Regions from separate parts of the Homo sapiens genome. Here region 1 is linked to region 2. The links are contacts of gene promoters, found by promoter capture Hi-C in human tissues and cell types (Jung and others, 2019). All regions are on one chromosome and are shown on one strand. Each heading gives the region's core, a stretch centred on a gene start or on the middle of the fragment in contact. The rest is flanking DNA. Distances are from core to core; before and after follow the strand shown.

Region 1 (6,486 bases), core at 3,531-6,030, 360 kb before region 2:
TCAGGTGATCCACCCGCCTTGGCCTCCGAAGGTGCTGGGATTACAGGCGTGAGCCACCACGCCCGGCCAGACCCTGTCTCTTAAAAAAAGGAAGTTTCACAGCAGCAACAGAAAGTCTCCAGTTAAAAAAAAATTTTTTTTTGACAGAGTCTTGGCTCACTGCAACCTCCATCTCCTGGGTTCAAGCAGTTCTCCTGCCTCAGCCTCCCGAGTAGCTGGGACTACAGGAGCACACCACCATGCCTGGCTAATTTTTTTTTTGTATGTTTTAGTAGAGACGGGGTTTCGCCCTGTTGGCCAGGCTGGTCTTGAACTTCTGACCTCAAGTGACCCACCCACATCGGCCTCCCAAAATGCCGAGATTACTGTCATGAGCCACTGAGCCCGCCCCCAGTTAAGTTGAATGAGCACGTGAATATTAAAGGTTATTGCTTTCTCATGTTGGAAGAATCCTGGTGTGAAATGGACAGTGCTGTGCTGGGTCTTTCAGGACATGGAGGGCCCCTGGCCCGCCTTTCTGTCTGTTCGGCGGTATGGGGTGTTGCTGGCTTTGTCGGAGCTCAGAGGTGCCCCTGCGGCCTCTGGCCCTGCTCTGGCTCTGGTGGAACCGCAGGTCCTCCCTTGCTGTACACAGGGGGGCAGTCTTGGCCAGGCCCCACAAGACCTGGCCCCTTCCACATGTCAGTTCCAGCTAACGGGAACTAGCACATATTTTTTGTTATAGAAACACGCTATGGAAAATACCAAATGTTTTTAGAAGTAGAGGGCATCCTGGCAGTTTCAGCCAGAGGTGGCACTTTCCTCTTTCATCCTCCCTGTGGGTTAGTGTTCTGAGGTTTCACACTGTCCACATGTGTCCTGTGTGTGTGTGCCTGCAAGTGTGCACGCACCAGGGTGTGAGGCAAGCAGAAGCCAGGAGGCGCTTCCAGAGCAGGTGCAGCAGCGTGGCCCCAGGGAGGGTGACTGTGGTGTTGGGGGACAGGGAGAACAACACAGGGACAGGAAACAGAGGTCCTGGGGTGTGAGGAGGGTATGGGAGGCTGGAGGGTGCAAGACAGAGTGATGGAGGAGGGAGGGCAGAGGTGGCAGGTGGAGCGTGGAGCTGCTGACGCATGCAGCTTTGCAGTGTGCTGTGGTGCAAGCTGATGGGTATGGGTCAAGGAGTGAAGAGATTGCGTAAAACACAACCAGAATCGAAATCATCACTGTAATTTAACGTGGCATCTCACTGTGGCCCTGTTCTGTCAGAAGCACGCCTGCAGCCCACTGTACCTAGGCAGGGAAACGTGGCTATAATGGAGGCTGTACGGCGTCCCCTGTTCTTGGAAGGTGGGGCTTCAGGGGCTTTTTATTTATTTGTTTTTGAGATGGAGTTTCGCTCTTGTTGCCCAGGCTGGAGTGCAATGGCGCGATCTCGGCTCACCACAACCTCTGCCTCCCAGGTTCAAGTGATTCTCCCGCTTCAGCCTCCTGAGTAGCTGGGATTACAGGCATGTGCCACCATGCCTGGGTAATTTCATATTTTTAGTAGACACGGGGTTTCTCCTTGTTGGTTAGGCTGGTCTCGAACTCCCAACCTCAGGTGATCCAACCGCATCGGCCTCCCAAAGTGCTGGGGTTATAGGCGTGAGCCACTGCACCCAGCTGGCTTTTTATACTTTGATCATTGTCCTTTTTCTAATGTAGTGTTATATGAGTTATTTATTAAAAGCATTATATACACTAATTAGAATATAGTGAGATTTTTCTTTTTCTAAAGTGAAAGTTGGTGAGGGAGCATGTGCTGGAGACCAGCATGCCAGGGGCTACACAGAATGGTGATCTTAATTCGAACGCTTAGAAAAAACAGGCGGGGCGTGGTGGCTCACGCCTGTAATCCCAGCACTTTGGGAGGCCGAGGTGGGTGGATCACTTGAGGTCGGGAATTCAAGGCCAGCCTGGCCAACGTGGTGAAACCTCATCTCTAGTAAAAATACAAAAATCAGCTGGGCGTGGTGGCACGCACCTGTAGTTCCAGCTACTCAGGAGGCTGAAGCAGGAGAATTGCTTGAATCCGGGAGGCGGAGGTTGCAGTGAGCCGAGATCGCACCACTACACTCCAGCCTGGGCGATAGAGCGAGACTCCGTCTCAAAAAAAAAAAGAATACACACTGCTCACAAAACAAAGAACTCTGAGGGAGGGTCGGAGTTGCAGGCACCTGGAGCTCAGCCTGGGGAGGCCTGGGCCAGATTTCTGCAGAATTTAGAATTGGCTCATCAGTGCTGCTCAAAGCCCCCTTATTCCAGGATGGGTCTCTCCTGAGTCCTGCGTTTCTCCCTGGCCTCTCTTCTGGATTCTCATATCAGCAGGCACCTCACTGTGGCCCTGCCAGGTCCTCTCCAGCCCCCACAAGGAGACACCACTGCGACCTGCTCCAGCTTCTGTTTAGTTTATTATTTGTTCAGACAGGTTCTCACCGTGTTGCTCAGGCTGGAGTGCAGAGGTGCATCACAGCTCACTGCAGCCTCCACCTTCTGGACTCAAACGATCTGCCTGCCTCAGCCACCTGAGTAGCTGGGACCACAGGCATGCCCTACCATACCCCGCTCATTTTTTTTTTGTAGAGATGGGATCTTGCTATGTTGTCCAGGCTGGTCTTGAACTCCTGGGCTCAAGCAGTCTTCCTGCCTCAGCCTCTCAAAGTGCTGTGATTACAGATGTGAGCCACTATGCCTGGCCTGTTCTAGCTTCTTTTTTTTTTTTTTTTTGAGACAGGGTCTTGCTCTGTCACCCAGGCTGGAGTGCAGTGGCACGATCTCAGCTCATTGCAGCCTCGACCTCCCGGGCTCTAGTGATCCTCCAACCTCAGCCTCCTGAGTAGTAGGACCACAAGCAGGTGCCACCACACCCAGCTAATTTTTTTCAGTTTTTTTTTGTAGAAATGGGTCTCCCCCCATCCTGGCTAACACAGTGAAACCCCGTCTCTACTAAAAACACAAAAAATTAGCCGGGCGTGGTTGCAGGCACCTGTAGTCCCAGCTACTCGGGAGGCTGAGGCAGGAGAATGGCATGAACCCAGGAGGCAGAGCTTGCAGTGAGCCAAGATCACGCCACTGCACTCCAGCCTGGGTGACAGAGCGAAACTCTGTTTCAAAAAAAAAAAAAAGAAAGAAAGAAAGAAAGAAATGGGTCTCCCCGTGTTGCCCAGGCTGGTATTGAACTCCTGGGTTGGGCGATCTTCCTGCTCCGGCCTCCCAAAGTGTTGGGACCACAGGTGTGAGCCACCATGCCCGGCCACCACTCCAGCTTCTTTTTTACTTTATTTTATTTTTATTTTTATTTTTATTTTTTTGAGACGGAGTCTTGCTCTGTCACCCAGGCTGGAGTGCAGTGGCACCATCTCTGCTCACTGCAACCTCCACCTCCTGGGTTCAAGCGATTCTCCTGCCTCAGCCTCCTGAGTAGCTGGGATCACAGGCACCCGCCACCACGCCTGGCTAATTTTGTATTTTTAGTAGAGACAGAGTTTCACCATGTTCGCCAAGATGGTCTCGATCTCCTGACCTCGTGATCCACCCACCTCGGCCTCCCAAAGTGCCGGGATTACAAGCGTGAGCCACCGCGCCCGGACCTTCTACAGCTTCTTGAAAGCCACTAGGTTTGTGGCAATTTTTATGGCAGCCACAGAAAACTAGTACATAGATCCCAGTTGTGACAACCTAGGTAGTCTCCAGGCACTGCCCCCGTCCCGGCACCACCTTTGTTGGAGGCCTGTGCTCAGTGCTGGTGCCCTGCTGCTGCTGCCGGCCACCCCTGTGGCCACGTTACCCACCAGGAGGCCGGCTCTGGGCCTCAGCCTGAAGGAGGCCCGGGCTTTGCCTCTGCTGCCACCAGGAAAAGCTGAGTGCCACCTGACCCTGTTCAGCTCTGAGTTTCCGGACGGGCCCAGTAGCTGCCCCTTGCTCTCTTCAAAACTTTTCTTGGCTGCTCTAATTCCTTTTTGCTTCCAACTGAACTTTAGAATCATTTTACTGGAGTCTTTAAAGAGTGTTGTTAGTATTTGTTTGGGATTCAGTTACATTCATTGTGAAGCCAGAGGCCGTGCCTGTTCTGCCTTGTCTGTGCTGGTGGCTGCCCCTGGATGACGCTGAGGTCCCTGCCTCATGGTTTCCCTGGAGGGCCTGGCCCCAGGCTCCAGCGATTGGCTTTCTGCTTCTGCATCCTATCCTTCCAGTGTCCTCCGACAGGCCCTACACACTTGCCTTCCCCCAAGTGGCCAAGGTTGTCTGCGCGTCCCGATTGCAGCAGCCTCCAGTCCTGTGTCTGTGCTTTGTCACAAATGCACTGGCCCCTGTGCCAACCACTGAGGGCCGACGCTGCGGGGCGGGGGGCACTTTCCAGCTCTCCCCATCTTTGGGCATGCCTGGGGCCTCACCTTACTGTTCTCGTTGGAAGATCAGGCCGCAGCGTTTGGGTTGGTGAACCTGGTGAACAATCCACATGTCCACCATGCTCATTGGGAGATCAGGCTGCAGCGATCGGGCTGGTGAACCTGGTGAACAATCCAAATGTCCACCTGATGTTTCCAGAGGTACCAGGGCCAGGTCTTAACCCCGAAGCCCTGCAGGGCAGAATGTGGTGGACGTCGTAGGCATGCTGTCAGTTGGCAGAGCTTCGGAGTAGAGTGTCCAGCAGGTTCAGCTGCAGCCTCCCCATGGGTGGGTGGACTGAGGCGTGGGGGCCTTCTGCAGACTGGCTGGTTGCAGTGCCTTGGGGCACATGGGATGGTACCTGCGTCCCCTGCAGTCCAGCAGGGAGGTGGATGTGTTCACATGTGGTCACCATGCAGGAGTGATATCTGAGTGGGCTGGCCTGGGGCAAGGGGGACGGCCAGCCCATGCTGTGTGTGCACCACTTGCAGAGGTTTGGAGGTACATCTGTGTTCTCGCCCGGCAGCCATTTGACAGCGTCCACTCTGGACTTGCAGTGTGTTAGGGACATGGTTAGAAAATGCAGAAAGTGCCTGTAATCCCAGCCGGGCGTGGTGGCGGGCACCTATAGTCCCAGCTACTTGGAAGGCTGAGGCAGGAGAATGGCGTGAACCCAGGAGGCGGAGCTTGCAGTGAGTGGAGATGGGACCACTGCACTCCAGCCTGGGCAACAGAGGGAGACTCCGTCTCAAAAAAAAAAAGAAAATGCGGAAAGTGCAGTTGGCCCACCCTCAACCCTGCTGGCTGGGCAGAGTGAGAGATGCTTCCCCCACTGGGGTTCCTGGCTCAGTGACGGAGGTGCGGGGGGCCGACCTGCTGCTTCCCCCATGAGTGCTGACCCCCGCTTTGTTCTCACTTTGTGTCTGTGGATGTTAGGAAAGGGTTGTAAATGCAGATCTCCAAGTTTTGGCTGATCTGTCTTTTTTTGTGTTTCCAGGTGCTGGCAAAACCCCGACTCTGGGTGGCGGCTTCCACGTGAATCTGGGGAAGGAGTCGAGAGCGCAGACCCTGCAGAATGGTATTTCCCACCGCGGATGCTGCTGAGCGTGCGGCGGGTCCCAGAGATGGGGATGGTGGTGCTAGGGTGGAGGGCACTGACTCAGCCATGGACCTCATGGCCTGCCACTTCCTCGTCACCCTGCACGCCCAGCCCAGGCTGCTTTCCAGGAGGAATTGTGCCCTGAGTCCCCTCCTGGGTGTCCTGCAGACTCTGCCAGGGCTGTTTGGGGAGAACCCAGTGGATCCCACAGGATCCACAGCCATTGCTTGATGGCCTCAGTGAGATGGAGGCAGAAATAACACATTTATAGCAGTTGGATATTGTAGTGACATTCTCACTGCGTTTTGTCAAAGTGCCAGTTCACCACAAACTGGAGAAATGTCTGCTGGGTTATTTGTCTTATGATTGAGTTGAAAAAGTTCTTTATGTGTTTTAGGTACAAGTCTTTTATCGGATGTGTGATTTTATATATTTTAGGTGCAAGTCGTTTATCGGATGTGTGATTTTATGTGTTTTAGGTACAAGTCTTTTATCGGATGTGTGATTTATAGGACATTTTCAGCCATTTCATGCGTTCTTTTCATTTTCTTTTGTCTTTTTATTTTTCGCTGGTATCCTTTGGAGCATGAAAGTTTTAAATTCTGATAGTATCCAGTTTACCTATTTAGTCTCTTGATGGCTGTGCTTTTGGTATCATAACTAACAAATGTTGCCTAATCCAGTCCAAATCGTGAAGATTTGTGCTTATGATTTTTTGGAGTTTTGCGCCTTCCTCTCTTTCCAGTAGGTTTTGGTCCATATTGAGTCAGCGTTTGCATGTGATGTAAGGTAAGGGCCTGCCTTCACTCCTGCACGTGCAGACCCAGTTTTCTCAGGACCATGTGTTGAAAACACTGTATTTTGCCAGTTGGCATCCTCTTGGTGCCCTTGCTGAAAATCGATTGACCGTAAACCTAAAAGCTCATTTCTGGATCCTCAGTTTGGCTTAGTGACTGCATGACAGTCCTGGTGCCCGT
Region 2 (6,302 bases), core at 2,583-5,082:
GAGCCCCCAGCCCACCTCACATCACCTGCCCCATCCCACTGCCAAGCCAGAGCAACCGTTGCTCAGGTGGCCCCCGGGATGAGCCCAGGCCAAGTGTGCAGGGTAAGGGTTTAAGGTATAGGCAACAAAACAGACTGGGCAGGGTGGGCCTGAGCCCAGCATGCTGCTGGGGTGGTGACACCCAGGAGCAATTTGGGAAGGAGCCTGAGAGGGGCTGCCTGGTCCAGAGCAGGCTAGACTGGGGGGTCCTGGCCCCACTCAGCCCTGAGGCACTGCCCACAGGGAGCAGCTGCTCCTGAAGCCGGGCAGAGTAGAGCAGAGCTGTGGAGTCTGGGGTCTGGGGTGGCCTCGTGGTGTGGAAGCCCTTGGTGGTGGCCAGAGCTGGCCTGGAAGGGAAAGGTTGGGCCAGGGGCAGGTAAGCTCCCGTTTCCAGGGGATGTGTGCAGGATGGCCCAACAGGTTCCTCCGGGGCAGTCCTGGGATTCCAGGACCCCAACCGCAGGGAAAGAAGGGTGGGAGGGAAGGATGAGGGGCGGCAGGGGACAGTGACATTACCCCCAGGGGTGGAAGGACTGAGGGGGTGAGCCTCAGCACAGGCAGTGTTCTCCAGCCTGTCAGAGCCCCCAGGTGGCAGCCTCTGTTTGCTGCAAAAAGCACCACACGCCTGCCCCGTCCCCAGCCCCCACTCCAGCTCATATGGTCGTGGCCCTCCCTGGTGACCTGCACCTTCCTGGAGGAGCTGGTAGAGGGCCCCCCTTATCTCACGGGCAGATCCAAGGGCAGAAACACAGGCAGCAGCCCCAAACTGAGACCTGCCCCCGCAGGCCTCCATGGGCTCACTTACTGGCAGGAGTCCCTCTGCTGCCTGGCCTCTGCTTCCAGGGGCTCCCAAGCTGGGCTGGAGCCATGCTCCCAGGACCTGGGCACGTCCTTGGGCTGCACCTGGCCCCAGGTGGGAGGACGGGGCACTTGCCACAGGAGGCAGATAAGAGCCACGGAGCCCAGCCACAGCACAGCCAGCGCTCCCAGGACCTGCAACTGGATGGGGCAGCACCCGCAGGGTCACCAGACAGGGCGGGGCTTGACTTCTGGCTGGGCCACGATGGCCCCTCCAGTGCTGAGACAGAGACCGTCTTGACTTCCCGGACCTGGGCTGCCACTGGGGTGGGACTAGGGTGGACAAGGGAGAGGGGAGGGTGATACAGAGAAGGCCCCCAGCCCAGGGTGGTGGCAGGGGTCAGGGGGCCTGCAGCCCACTCTGCAATGCTGTGGCTCGTGGTAACTGGCTGTCCCCAGCACCTCCAGCAGGGGCATAAAGGGAAGGTCTGGAGCAGCCCAGGGAGGCTTCCCTTGCCCACCAGTCAGGGCACCTCTGCTTGGAGGCCCCCTCAAGGCTGCTTGTGACCTCTCCACTCTGGCTCGGAGCTCTTGAAAGGCCATTGATCCCAGCCACCTCCCCCCTGGGGCCCCCCAGTCCTACCGTGCCAGCCTCTCTGTCCCACGGGCGGCGGGGCGGCATGGAGCATGGCCATGTGGGGGCCACTGCTGCTTTCCAAAGAGGCTTCAGCATCTGCACAGGGCAGCCTGGCATCACCAGCAGCTCCAGCTCTGCCCAGAACTGCCCCTCAGTGCCTGGGCAGCTGGGCACTGGGGACACCCCTGCACAGACACCCACATAAGCCCCCAAAAGCCCCCCACTCATGCCCGAGGTCACGCCCTGGATGTTGGGGGTGTGCTTTCCACGAGGACAAGCCGTGTGGGTGTTGGAGCCCGCAGCCGGCCACATGTCACCTGTCCTGTCCCCCTGGCCAAGCCGGAAGGACTGCTGTTAAGGCGGTCCCCAGGGCTGAGCCTGGGCCAAGCACGAGGGGCGGGCGGGCGTCTGTGCCTAGCCACATGCCCCGGCTTTCTGTGTCTCCCCTTTCAGGGTCTCCCACTCAGTGAGTATCTAGGTATTTGCATCTCAGTTCCCTGTTTCAACCACAACTGAAACTGCGTCTGAAAGGGCTGTTTCTGCTTTTGTCGCTTGGTCCTCTTATTGCTGGCCTATAAATAACTGCTTCCCTCCTGGGCTGGGCTCCTGTCTTGGCCCCACGGCAGCCCCTCCAGAGAGCCACAGGTCAGAGGGGGCAGCTGAGCAGTACCCTTGCTGGAGAGGCTAGGCGTGGAGAGGGCAGAGATGGCGGCAGAGTGGGACCCCTACTGCTGGCAGAGGGGGTTGTCCTCTGCTGCAGGGACTCGCCTTATCTCCTCAGAGTGGTCACCCCACAAGGAGCTGGGAGCCAGGCCATCTGGGCCCTGTGGGATGTGGGCTCCCATCCCCACTCCTACCCCCAAAGCAAGCAGTCAGGCTGCCCCAGGTGCCACCATGGGGGAAGGGTGCCTCACAAGTACAGAGGCGCCCTCCCCGGGTGCAGGGAGGGGTCTGTGCCCAGCATGGTCACCTGGCTGGCCAGCCTCTGACTGAGACATCCACCAGGGCAGGAGCTGGCTGGCCCCTGGCTGGGATGGGGATGTCTCCGAGGTTTGGGGCCTGGGCCTGGGCAGTGCTGAGTGCCAGTGTCTGCAGCCAGGCTGGGCGCTGGGACCCAGGGCTCGGTGGGTCGGCTGTCCACCCAGGAGCAGCCAGCTCAGCCTCCAGGCCTCTGGGGTTCGTCTGGGCTGTCCTCCCACGGGTCAGGGCTGAGGGCTTTGAGAACCTGGCCTGCCTCAGCATGGGGCGGAAATGCCAGGAACACCACAGGAGTCGGGCCTGGACTGAGTCTGCCCTGGAGACCAAGCGTTATGGGGGATTGGGGGTAGGAGCATAAACCAAGTGTGGGGACAGGGGACTCAGGCCAAGTCACTGCGGCCCAACTCCCCCCACGCTGGGGGGTCCTGCAGAGGTGGGTGGGTGCCGCCCCCACCCCAGAGCTGAACTCTGGGGGATGCTCCCCCCACCCCACAGAGGAGACCTCAGGGTGCCCACCGTGTCCCCACTGTCCCCAGGGATTCAGGGCCCAGCATCGGGCCTTTGCTCTCCCCCACTAACTCTCAGAAGAGGAAACATGGAATCCTGGGCTGTGGCTGGTCAATGAGAGGAAACATGGAATCCTGGGCTGTGGCTGGGCAACGAGGTGCCAGGGCTGTTCTTGGACAGCTGCTCCCCACACTCCCTGCCCTCACCAGAGAGGACCTTTGCTCCCTTAAATGCTCCAGGCAGACGGGCAGCTCAGAGCACAGAGGCGCTGCCTCTTGCAGGCCCCATCTCAGACTTGGAGCCTGTCCAAGTCCCCTCCCAGGACTACAGACCCCAGAGCGCCTCACCACCTCCTCCTGCAATGGAACCTGGGAGGACCGCCAGCCAGGTTGGCTCAAGCTGAGAGACCCCTGCAGAGTAGGGCTGTAGCCCCCTGGTCCCATGGTAGATAGCGTAAGACCCTGCAGACATCAGAGGTCATGGCTGAAGGTGCCAGATTTCCTGCCCTGCAGGGCATTAGGCATGGCTGCCAGTCCCAGGCTGAGGTAGAGGGCCCAGCTGTCACCTGGCTGGAGAGCCAGGGCCCAGCTTATCCCAGCTGCACGGACTGGGGACGGAGCGAGTCATCTACAGGACTAGCTGGAGGCTGTGTGACTCTCTGGACCTGGGGTTGCTGGGAGGCTGAGGCCATAGGGAGGCAGACAGCAGCCCTTTCCCCATGCCTGGCTTTTCTCAGCTGCCCTGGCCTCATTGGCACATACCTCTGGGGGTCCTGCCTTGGTGTCTATCCTGATTCCAGCCGCAGACTGCAGGCCCTCAGCTCACGGGGCAGGCTCGGTGCTGCCTGTGCTCCACACCAACCTCCTCTTCTCTGCAGCTCACCTCCTCCTCTCTGCAGCTGGCTCCTTCCCCTTCCAGCTACTTCCTCTTTGTCCTGAGAGGCCCCCTCTCATCTGAGACAGAAACAGACGGCTGGAGCTGGGTGGGCGGGCTAGAGGGTAGGGCTGAGAACCTTCACCTCCAGGAAAAATCTACACCCCACTCCCTCGAGGTAGAGGCCCTCCAGTTGCGGGCCTACGAATCGGAGTCAAGTTCAGCTGCAGGCCACAGACACCTAAGGAACAGTGGCTTCAGCAAGGTTGTTCATTACTCTCGAACACTAAGCAGGTCCAGGGGCTGGCAGGCTAGAGACGGCCTTGCTAGAGATGATGGCATTGCTCCACTGCCATTGGGAGCCAGGCTCTCAGATCCCAGTCCCTAGGATCCCTGCCTTCATGGCCTCACAGTGGCTGCTGGAACTCAGCCATTGCCTCTGTGTTCTTAGCAGAGAATAAGGGACATCCCAGAGGAGACTTCCTGGAAGTCCCACAGGGCACTTCCACTTATCTGTGATCTGGAACTTGATCTAGAACTTAGTCACATGGCTACACTTAGCTGCAAGGGAGGCTGAGCAATGGAGGTAACTAGGGTCTTTATCTTGGAGAACGAAGCTGGGGCTGCTCACTGGCATATCTGAAAAGGTGGGCCTGGCTAGAAGCTCCTAGCAAGGGGCTCTGCCTCCCACTGCCCCACCCCCCGACTGGGGTCCCTGAGTAAGGTCTGGGACCTTGAGAACACTCCTACTTTCAATGAGGTCTGGGTGTCCACCCTGGCTCCTCCTTGTAAGGCCTATGTAGGGCAGGGGTCCAGGGTGATGGCCTCAGGGTGCCTGCAGGACACCAGTCAGGAGGGTGCAGTTCCCAAGGGTGGGGCCTGTCAGCTGCACCCCTGGGGCCAGTCTGGGTGGGCCAGGAAGTGAATGGGGAAGAGATCCATCCTCTCCCTAGCCCCTCCCAGATCTCTCTTCACCTTCCTGATGCTCTGATTTGGCCTTGGGTTCAGCCCTTACCTCCCGGCCATGGTTGGGGAGCCCCAGCCCTCTGGCTGGGTTGCTGGATGCCTGAATGCAGCTGGGCCCCAGGCATGCCCCCGAGGGTTGGGTCCTCCAGGGACTCTGGGTGAGGGTTACTCTGGGTATGGGGAGGGGCAGCCAGGTGGGTCCTGCTGTGACATTTGCAGGGCTGGGGCATGAGTATGAAGGGAGGCTGCCTTCCCTGCACTCAAGCAAAAGGCAGTTAGACAGAACAGGTTCTCTTCTGTCTTTTTTTTTTTCTTTTTCCTTTGAGAGAAGTCTCGCTCTTGTACCCCAGGTTTGAGTGCAACGGCTTTATCTCGGCTCACTGCAACTTCTGCCTCCCGAGTTCATACGATTCTCCTGCCTCTGTCTCCCAAGTAGCTGGGATTAAGGCACGTGCCACCACGCCCGGCTAATTTTTGTATTTTTTATTAGAGACGGGGTTTCACCATGTTGGCCAGGCTGGTCTCGAACTCCTGAACTCAGATGATCCACCCGCCTCGGCCTCCCAAAGTGCTGGGATTACAGGCGTGAACCACAGCGCCCAGTCTCTTCTGTCTGGACAACAATGGTGTGTGAGGGCCTGGAAGGCCAGGGGCAAGTGGAGGACCCCAGGGCTCCTTGGAGCACTCTCAGAAGTCCTTGCAGGAGGGCCAGCCCCAGCCAGTCCCCTCTCCGATTTCCCCACATTGTGAGGGGCCTCAATGAGCCCACATGCTACACCCAGCCCGTGGGTCTGAGCTCATTGCAGCCCCAGAAAAGCACCACGTCACCTCCCCTGGCTGCCCCTCAGGCCAGCAGGACTGGGTACAGCTCAGGCAGCTCTACCTCGGGAGGATGGATCCAGGCTTGGGGATGTTTAAGCAAGGAATCCTGGGCCTTGGGCTCAGGGTTCGGTGGACTGTCCTCTTGGCCTCTCAGGCTGCTTACCCTGGAAGAAAGATTGAGGCTGGAAGGGGCGTCTAGATTCGGGACCCAGGGCAGGCCTCTCAGTGGCTCCGAGGCTGGCTGTGTGGCCAGGAACGACCTGAGGGCAGCTCCTTGCCGGCTCTGCTCCCTGCGCTGCAGGCCCCACCCTGAGGTCTAGGGCCCTTTGGTCCCATGGGGTGTGGGGAGGGACTTTGGGGATTTCCCATGAAGCAAAACTTTTTTTTTTTTTGAGATGGAGTCTTGCTCTGTCGCCCAGGCTGGAGTGTAGTGGCGCCATCTCGGCTCACTGCAAGCTCCGCCTCCCAGGTTCAGGCCATTCTCCTGCCTCAGCCTCCAGAGTAGCTGGGACTACAGGCGCCCGCCACCATGCCCAGCTAATTTTTTGTATTTTTAGTAGAGACGGGGTTTCACCGTGTTAGCCAGGATGGTCTCAATCTCCTGACCTCGTGATCCACCCGCCTCAGGCTCCCAAAGTGCTGAGATTACAGGCATGAGCCACCGTGCCCAGCTAGTGCATAT

What was found. Contacts are between HindIII fragments. The study calls those that stand out against the background at their distance.
Region 1: a contact is called between a fragment that was not itself captured here and the fragment with the promoter of PLD4 in region 2, in 1 of the 25 tissues and cell types used here (dorsolateral prefrontal cortex).

What each region holds. Positions count from the first base shown.
Region 1 is chr14:105,285,298-105,291,783 of GRCh38, reverse strand. It overlaps BRF1 (BRF1 general transcription factor IIIB subunit), which reads left to right. Exons shown (of 18, transcript NM_001519.4): 2 at 5,408-5,488. Among named protein-coding and RNA genes, the nearest start is that of BRF1, 12 kb to the left of the region's middle. RefSeq lists an enhancer at 4,963-5,861. The HindIII fragment of the contact is 6,229 bases long and covers 1,666-6,486 here.
Region 2 is chr14:104,922,409-104,928,710 of GRCh38, reverse strand. It overlaps PLD4 (phospholipase D family member 4), which reads right to left and starts at 3,832. Exons shown (of 11, transcript NM_138790.5): 1 at 3,721-3,832; 2 at 1,481-1,570; 3 at 845-1,038. The coding sequence starts at 1,570. RefSeq lists enhancers at 2,998-3,507, 3,490-3,659, 6,054-6,103. The HindIII fragment of the contact is 18,191 bases long and covers 1-6,302 here.